Regions from separate parts of the Homo sapiens genome. Here regions 1 and 2 are each linked to region 3. Evidence: promoter capture Hi-C in 16 types of primary human blood cells and fetal thymus (Javierre and others, 2016). All regions are on one chromosome and are shown on one strand. Each heading gives the region's core, a stretch centred on a gene start or on the middle of the fragment in contact. The rest is flanking DNA. Distances are from core to core; before and after follow the strand shown. Region 1 has its middle 58 kb from the start of MIR5692C1. Region 2 has its middle 13 kb from the start of MIR5692C1. Region 3 holds the start of CXCL14 (C-X-C motif chemokine ligand 14).

Evidence for each region. The method cuts DNA at HindIII sites, captures the fragments that hold promoters and counts their contacts. A CHiCAGO score of 5 or more calls a contact.
Region 1: a contact is called between a fragment that was not itself captured here and the fragment with the promoter of CXCL14 in region 3, in 3 of 17 cell types (M2 macrophages, M1 macrophages and megakaryocytes). The highest score is 6.3, in M2 macrophages.
Region 2: a fragment that was not itself captured here is called in contact with the fragment with the promoter of CXCL14 in region 3 in 1 of 17 cell types (erythroblasts); the score reaches 5.4 in erythroblasts.

Annotation. Positions count from the first base shown.
Region 1 is chr5:135,743,548-135,746,360 of GRCh38, reverse strand. It overlaps a transcript of SLC25A48 not described here. Among named protein-coding and RNA genes, the nearest start is that of MIR5692C1, 58 kb to the left of the region's middle. The HindIII fragment of the contact is 1,938 bases long and covers 457-2,394 here.
Region 2 is chr5:135,814,619-135,817,748 of GRCh38, reverse strand. It overlaps a transcript of SLC25A48 not described here. Among named protein-coding and RNA genes, the nearest start is that of MIR5692C1, 13 kb to the right of the region's middle. The HindIII fragment of the contact is 6,572 bases long and covers 1-3,130 here.
Region 3 is chr5:135,577,603-135,580,564 of GRCh38, reverse strand. CXCL14 (C-X-C motif chemokine ligand 14) reads left to right here and starts at 1,574. Exons shown (of 4, transcript NM_004887.5): 1 at 1,574-1,850; 2 at 2,026-2,131. The coding sequence starts at 1,787. It also overlaps a transcript of SLC25A48 not described here. The HindIII fragment of the contact is 10,061 bases long and covers 1-2,962 here.

The DNA of each region.
Region 1 (2,813 bases), core at 176-2,675, 170 kb before region 3:
GACTTTCCAGGGGCCCTCAGTGCCCAGGGAGGCCAAGGTGCTTCATGTCAGGGATGCCCCAACCAGCGGCTGTGCACTTCTGGAGTGGGGGCTACCCCAGACCCGGGTAAGAAAAAGGCAAGGCCTCAACAGGAAGTGAGAGGCGCAGGCCTGGAAAAGGCTGCACATGGGAGGGAGGGAGCGGGATCTGCAGAATGAGTGATGGGTACGGGCTAGAAGGTATTGTATACGGAGAGGAGTGGGGCCTAGAGGGCGCTGAGCATGAAAAGTAGGCAGCGTGAGGGCGGAGCTTGAAATGAGTGACAGGGAGGAGGACTGTAGAAGGCGAGAGCAAAGGATGTGGCACGGATGGAGGCCAAGACTAACCTGTGCAGCATCAGAAGGGACATTAATTAAGAGGATCCGGGACAGAAGTTTGAGTGACAATAACTGACCACAGAGAAAATGGGATAAGCTTCAAAGTCAGGGAGTCCTCAGACTTAAATCCTGGCTCTGCCAGCTATTTTCTTGACATAATTTTCTTCCTTTTGAGGAGTGATTCTTCCGTTCATTCAACAGAAGTGTGTTGACCGCCTCGTAGGTACTGTGCTGTGCTGGGGACACAGCTGGGGATCAGGCATGGTCACTGCCCTAGTGGAGTTTAGCTTAACAGGGGAAATATAAACACGTGAGCTAGCAACTAAACCACCACAGCTTTAAGTGCTGTGAAGCACAGATTCAAGGATGGGAGGACCTTAGGAGCCTGCTCAGAAGGACCTTAAAAAGCAGGAGGCAGGGGGAGAATCTTTTTTTTTCTTCCCACCACCCCCGCTGGCCTTTTTTCCAGAGGGAATCTTGCTGTGTTGCTGGGAACAGGCCCCCCACATCTGGCCATAAACAGGCCATGAGAAACTGGCCATAAACAAAATCTCTGCAGCACTGTGACATGCTTGTGATGGCTATGACACCCACGCTGGAGGTTGTTGGTTTACCAGAATGAGGGCAAGGAACACGTGGCCCACCCTGGGTGGAAAACCGCTCAAGGTGTTCCTAAACCACAAACAATAGCATGAGCGATCTGTGCCTTAAGGACATGTTCCTGCTGCAGATAACAAGCCAGAGCCTGTCCCTTTGTTTCCCATAAGGAATGCTTTCAGCTAATCTATGATCTATAGAAATAATGCTTATCACTGGCTTGCTGTCAATAAGTATGTGGGTCAAACTCTGTTCGGGGCTCTCAGGTCTGAAGGCTGTCAGCCCCCTGATTCCCACTCTGCACTCTATTTCTGTGTCTTTGTCTTAATTCCTCTAGCACTGCTGGGTTAGGGTCTCCACAACCGAGCTGGTCTCGGCACTGTGTAGCCCAGGCTGGAGTGCAGTGGTATGATCTCAGCTCACTGCAACCTCCGCCTCCTGGTTTCAAGTGATTCTCATGCCTCAGCTTCCCCAGTAGCAGGGACTACAGATGCCCGCCACCTCTCCTGGCTAATTTTTGTAGTTTTAGTAGAGACAGGGTTTCATTATGCTGGCCAGGCTGGTCTTGAACTCCAGACCTCAGGTGATCTGCCTGCCTCAGCCTCCCAAAGCTGGGATTACAGGTGTTAGCCACCACACCCAGCCAAGGGGGAGAATCTTGAAGGAGTTCAAAGAGAGAGTTGGGTTTGATTCTTGGGTCCATGTGGTGTGACCATCAGCAATAGTCATAACCTCTCTGAGCTTCTGGTTCCTCATCAAAAATGGAGACAGGCCAAGTGCGGTGGCTCACGCCTGTAATCCCAGCACTTTAGGAGGCCGAGGCAGGTGGATCACTTGAGGTCAGGAGTTCAAGACCAGCCTGGCCAACATGGTGAAACCTGTCTCTACTAAAAACACAAAAATTAGCTGGCATGGTGATGCGTGCCTACTCTTGAGGCTGAGGTGGGAGGATCACTTGAACTGGGGAGGTGGAGGTTGCAGTGAGCTGAGATCATGCCACTGCCCCCCAGCCTGGGTGACAGAGTGAGACCCTGTCTCAAAAGAAAAAAAAAATGGAGAGAAAAATAGTTACCTTGTCAATCCAATGGAGAGACTGAACCATCTCTACCAGTGGAGGTTTATTGAGCCAGAGCTTGAGGGCATGCTCTGGAAAACACAGAAATGTCTGTGGCCTGTGCTCCCTGGAGAGGTTCCAGGAGGCTCGTGTTTATATATTTCTTTAAAAGGGGAAAAAGCATGCAGGAAAAAGTGCAGTAGGCCTTGAGGCAGTTAGTTAAATTCCTGTGAGGTTTAAATTAGAGCCCAGTATATCTATGCTATACAGAAGATAAGGTAAACATTCAAAAGAGGGAGTAAAAGAAGAATTAATTAGATGTCTCAGGGTAGGAGAGGAAGGATTAATCTTATCCTGTCTTTGTTTGGCATGTGAGAAGATAAGCTTGTAATGGATGGACATCATCAATGTGACATTTAACAGACATCAGTAGCAGACAAGGAGTTAGACTGAGGTTACAGTCCTAAAGTTACAGTTAACATGTCCTTGTTTATGGGAGGATATTCATCTTCAAAGGTTTAGGGGCCATCAAAGAAGCTCCTTAGGAGCAATTTGTGAGGGCAGTCATCCCACGATGGAGATGCATGAGGCCTTTGGCCTTTTGCAGGGGTCTAGTTAATGTAGAATGCTTTGATCCAAGGTTGGGAAGTAACAGCTGTCTGTTGATGGGGAGGAGGACAGCAGTGTTGGGAGGTTTCCAGGCTTAACTTTCACTTGAATTTGAGCAGTAATGAGACATTTTATTTTCCATTATACCTCGTGTGTTAAGGATTTGAAATGAGATAGTTTCATTGACAGATACTTA
Region 2 (3,130 bases), core at 600-3,099, 240 kb before region 3:
TTTTCTCCCAGGTTGTGCCTTGACTTTTTATTTTATTAACAAAGTCTTTCTAGGAAATGGAAATTTTAAATTTTGATGGAATCTATTATTTTTTGTGTTTTTTGTATGCTATCTAAGAAATCTTTGCCTACCATAAGATTGTGAACATTTCTTCCTACCTTATTTTTCAAGTTCTATAGCCTCAGCTTTTATATTTAGGCCTGTGATTCCATTTGAGTTCATTGATGCTATTTGAGTTTGGGAGCAAGATTTATCTATATTTTCCATTTGGATAGCTATTGTGCCTCACTGGCTGAAAAGACTTTTCTTTCCCTCATTGATATACACTGGCATATTTGTCAAAAATCAGTAATATACATGTGGATTCATACCTGGATTGTCTATTCTGTTCCATTGATCTCTACTCACTGCCTTATTGTGGATCACAGTTTCTCAGCCTTGGCACTATTGATACTTTAAGCCAGATAATTCTTTGTTTCGGGCCATTGTCCTGTGCACTGTTGGATGTTTAGCAGCATCTCTGGCCTCTACCTACTAGATGCCAATATCATACTGCTCTCCTCCCTCCAGAGTAATGACAATAAAGAATGTCTCCCAACTTTGCCAGATGTTCCCTGGGGGGGAAATTGGCCCCATTGAGCACTGCTGCTATAAATTTGCTATATTCCTTGATAGCTAGGATAGTCTGCCAACTTTGCTCTTTCTAAAATACATTTTTATATTTTTACAATATAAACAAAAATATATTCTAGGTCCTCTGCAGTTTCATATATGTTAAATTTATCTCTAAATATTTTGGGGTTTTTATGTCTCTCTTTTTTAGCTGGTTTTATTGAGATCTAATTGTGTACAGTGAAATTGTCAAATACAATGTTACATTCTAAAGAATGCCTTCAGGTTGAAAGCTGAGGTAATTTTAGGGCTCACCTCATTTGTTCTCTTTCTCTTTGGATCATTGTCCTGTGTTTTCTGTTTTCCATCATCTTTAAATAGTGGTTTCTTATTTTATTCAGTTTTCTTGTTGTTTATAGTGGGAGGGCAAATCTAGTACCAGTTACCTCACCATGACTATAAGCAGAAGTCCCTAATAACCAACTTTTAACAGTCTCATTTATTTGAGTGGTTACTCTGTGCCAGAAACTACACTAGTCATTCTTCATTGATTATTTTATTTCTTATGAATAATCTTATCAGGTAGTTACCAATGATCATCCCTATGTAAAGATAAGAAAATGAGGTTTAGAGAGGGTAAGAATTTATTGAGTAATAGACAGTAGCAAATGGCAGGGCTGGAATTCAAATTTTGGTAGTTGGATTCTGAAGCGAAGTGTTTAATCACTTTGCCAGTTGTACAAAAGCACTATATGAAAAACGATTTTAGATGACACACAGGTTAACTGTTTTTATTTTAGTAGCAAATTAATGTAATATATTTTATGTAATATATGTTAGAAAAAATATAGTTACCACATCTGATATGGTTTGGTTCTGTGTCCCCACCCAAATCTAATCTCCAATTGTAATCCCCACATGTTGAGGGAGGAACCTGGTGGGAGGTAATTGGATGATGGGGATGGTTTCCCCCGTGCTGTTCTTGTGATAGTGAGGGAGTTCTTACGAGATCTGATGGTTTTAAAAATAGCAGCTTTCCCTGCACGCTCTCTCTCTCCTGCCACCATGCGAAGAAGGCACCTAATTCCCTTCACCTTCCGCCATGACTGTAAGTTTCCTGAGGCCTCCCCAGCCATATGGAACTGTGAGTCAATTAAACCTCTTTTGTTTATAAATTACCCAGTCTCAGGTAGTATCTTCACAGCAGTGTGAAAATAGACTAATACAACATCTAAGCCATGATTTTTCAGATACTTTTGCTTGGGACAAGAGTGAGTAGATTTTTTTAAAATAAAAATATGAGTCTGTTTAAATATCTGTATTACAGGTCATAATCAGATATGGCAAGAACATGCAGGTGACAGAGAATATCTGCACTCTGGGAAGGTGCACTGACTACACGTATCCCTTCTGGCTTGGTGAATGTGGCTCCAGGCCTGCCCCTGTGTCCATGTGCATCTGTAGACATGGATGGATAGAACTAATTTTACATAAAGGAAACTCTCACTGCAACTTGCTTTCTTCATTCCACAATATGTGCTAGCCTTTGCCCTTACCCATACATAGAGAGAGTTCAAAGGCAGCCCCTCAGGCCTTTCTGTGTGGTTGATGCTCTTCCTTACCTGCAAGCAGCTTTTGGTGCCTTTATAGCAGGGGTCCCCAACCCCTAGGCCATGGACTGGTACTGATTTGTGGCCTTTTAGGAACCAGGCCACACAGCAGGAGGTGAGCAGCTGGCAAGAGAACATTACCACCTGAGCTCCACCTCCCGTCAGATCAGTGGGGGGCATGAAATTCTCATAGGAGCACAAACCCTGTTGTGAACTGTGCATGTGAGGGATCTAGGTTTCATGCTCCTTATGAGACTCTAACTAATGCCTGATGATTTGAAGTGGAACTGTTTCATCCCACAACCATGCCTTCCCCCTCTCTGTGGAAAAGTGGTCTTCCACCAAACTGGTTCCTGGTGCCAAAAAGGTTGGGGACCGCTGCTTTAGAGTACATCCACCTCACAGATGCTGTGAAAGTCAGGGTTCCAGGATCTCCATAGCAGGCCCTCAGTTATCCCAGCCAGCACAGAGCCCAAGAGGAAATGCACATAATTCACTGTGTAAGATGAAACTTAATCAAACTGGGAGGTAACAAAAGGCCCACAGCTCCAGCATCTGGTCTAGCAGAACCCACAGTACTCTGTGGGCCCATCACAGTAAGGCCCTGCCAGTTCACGAGGCAGTGGCCTCCCATGGCCCCATGGCCTCACTGAATCCTCACTAGGCCTTCATGCCCAGAGACCAGCCTGGATGATCCAGCTGAGACAAACGATGACTTGTCCAGGGCTGTAGAATGATGGAGGTGGGAATCAGCACCAGGAACTGTGCCAAGGAAACAGTTTAAGCATACTCTCACATGTAACTGTCATCACACCAGGGCTGGGGATTCAGAGCACCATCCTGGAGATGCGGCACTTGAGGTCAGTGTGTCTGGGTGCCTGGTCCCAGGTCCCTCTGACTCCGGAGCC
Region 3 (2,962 bases), core at 325-2,824:
TAGGCGCTGCTTGCTTTTCATGGCTCAGCTTCTTCTTGAAGCAGCAAGGGCTCTCCAGTTGGGAAGAGACGACACAGATTCTTCCCATTGCACCCTTCAGCAGACTGTCCCCATCATCCAGAAGCCCTCTGGGCATTTTTGCCTCCAGGGAACTGCCAGGCTGATGGCATAGAGCTGGGTGAGCTCTCTCCTGACAGCCAAGCCCAGGGACTCCAAGAGCTTGAGATGATCCACCTCCTGTCTCTGGGTCTCTCAAGGCAGCAAGAAGTGAAGGGCAGACAGGCCTCAAAGCAACAGAGTGGTCCAGGGACAGGAGTCCCAGTTCTGCAGCCGTATATACTGAGGACCCTCCTGGCCTAGTCACCTGCTTCCTAGCTCTGTGACCTTGGACAAGTTATTTCTTCTCTCAGAGCATGTTTCCACACCTGTCAAATAAAGAAATTAAAAGTACCAACTTGGAAGAAAAGTACCAATTGGTAAGAATCAAAGTAATAGATAAATTAGACATAAAACGATGGTGCCAATAAGTAACATTTCCTGGGTACTGACAACATGTATGATTTCTATAGTTCTCACAGCCACCCTATCAGAAACACTGTGATGATCTGCACTTTACAGATGATGAAACAAAAGCTGAGAGCGGTAAAGTCACTTGTGCTGGAAAGTAGTGAGGAGGGAATTTCTGCCACTATGGCTGGGCTCACACCACTATACCTCGCATTCTGGCACAATGTCTAGAACATGGGAAGGCCTTCATCCAGATGGTTACCACTGTCATCGCTCTCCACTAGGGCTCTCTACCTGGCTTTGGAGAGTAGTGTGAGAGTGAGGACTCCTCCTGGTTCTCCCCACCACCCAGACACTCACACAGCCACCAGGCCACTGACCCACTTTAAGGAGCTTTCCTTTGGGAGTCACCAAAACTCCTCCCCAATACCCGTCCCCACCCCCGCATACACACACATACCCTCTTTGAGTCAGTTCCAGTGATCACAGTCAATGACTTTGCTGCTGGACAGTCTATGACAAGCCCCTGTCCAGAACTGGCCTTGTGTTCTGGCCCAGCAGGGGCCCTTGGGGGTCAGGCCTGCAGGCACTCACACTTGGCACCTGCTCCAAAACCCTTTCAGGTCTTTGAGGATCTGAGCCCTGGGCCTGGGTCTCCCGCCGGCTCGGAAAAGCTGGCCTGCCGGGCCAGAGAGAGAACCACACGATTCAGAAAAGCAGTGCCCTTCAGCAGCCTCTCCACCGTCTGGGCTCCCCAAAGGCAGAGCGGGACGCTGGAAATGTGTGCGCGCTGTGGTATGGGTGTGCAAGTGTGCGAAGGCGGCGTGTTGTGTGAGCGAGAGGGTAGCGGATGTGTGTGTGCGTGTGCGCGCGTGGCTCCGGGTGTGCGCCGCTGCGATAGCGGGTCCTTTCCCGGGGCGGGCGACGGGCGGGCTGGGAAGGTCTCCTCCCCTCACCACATTGAGAAATCTCAGTGAGTCACCGAGTGGTTCTGCATATTAATGAGCTCGCTCGCTGCGAGGGCAGGAGCGGATTTAAAAGAGGCCAGGGCGGGCGGAGGGAGGCTGTGGAGAGAGCGCGGAGACAAGCGCAGAGCGCAGCGCACGGCCACAGACAGCCCTGGGCATCCACCGACGGCGCAGCCGGAGCCAGCAGAGCCGGAAGGCGCGCCCCGGGCAGAGAAAGCCGAGCAGAGCTGGGTGGCGTCTCCGGGCCGCCGCTCCGACGGGCCAGCGCCCTCCCCATGTCCCTGCTCCCACGCCGCGCCCCTCCGGTCAGCATGAGGCTCCTGGCGGCCGCGCTGCTCCTGCTGCTGCTGGCGCTGTACACCGCGCGTGTGGACGGTGAGTGCGGGGAGCTCCCCTTGTCGCCGTCTCGTCTTGTCCTGTCCTGGGGAACCCAAGCGCCAATTTCTAGGCATCCTGGGATCCCGCGGGGGGTGGTCTGGGTGGGCACCAAGGTGGTCGAGGGGCAGGAGACCGCCTAGCAACTAAGCCGTTGCCCCGCGCTCGCTCGCAGGGTCCAAATGCAAGTGCTCCCGGAAGGGACCCAAGATCCGCTACAGCGACGTGAAGAAGCTGGAAATGAAGCCAAAGTACCCGCACTGCGAGGAGAAGATGGTTATGTGAGTTCTCGCTCCTCACCTTGAGGGGGTGCGCACTGCTGTCAACCCAATGCCAGGGCACAGCCTGGGCCTGGGTCGGGCTAACAAACATTTCTCTCCGACTTTGTCAAGGCCCTGGAAAAGCCTTTGTAATTGCCCAGAGAGTCCTTAGGACGCTGGCGAGACACTCTGGAAGACAGTCGGGAAGGGGGGTCACTGTCCCGCTCCGGAACAGCGCCTCCAAGTTCACCCTTGCTAGGATTCAAATGAGCAGTCTCCCTATTTGTACCATGGGCCACCCACTCTGCTAGGGCCATCAAGGGTTAAAGGGTTCCCTTGTGCCAACTCAGAAAACCTAGACTGAAATCACTTAAAACACACTCACACCCAAACTGTGAGGCGTGCTGCCTTCCTGTCACTGGATAGAGGACTAATGCAAACACTATCTTAAATCCTGAGTCTCCTTCAGAGCCTTGTTCCAGTCAGAGACAAGTGGACCGCAAGTTTTTGGCTCCTAGAGATTTTATTTTGAGAACGCTCCACGAGCTTCCCTCACCGACTGTACTCCTTGTGGGTCCCCAATACGGAGCAGTACTGCAGAAAGTGCTCTGCTGGGGTTAATGTGCCACATGGCTGGAGCCCTGCTTGGTGGGGATGTGGGGAATGTTGGAAAAACTGGGGCAGAGTGAGAGAACACTTAGTTTCTTGCTCCTCCGCCTTCCCAATTAACCACTTGAGGCCAGCACCGCTGCCTCCTCATCAATATGCTCTTGGCCAGGAAGGGAGCCCTTGGCAAAGCGGCTACCAAATATTTGCCACAGACCATTGGCCCCTCTTCCCCTCCCCCAGAAA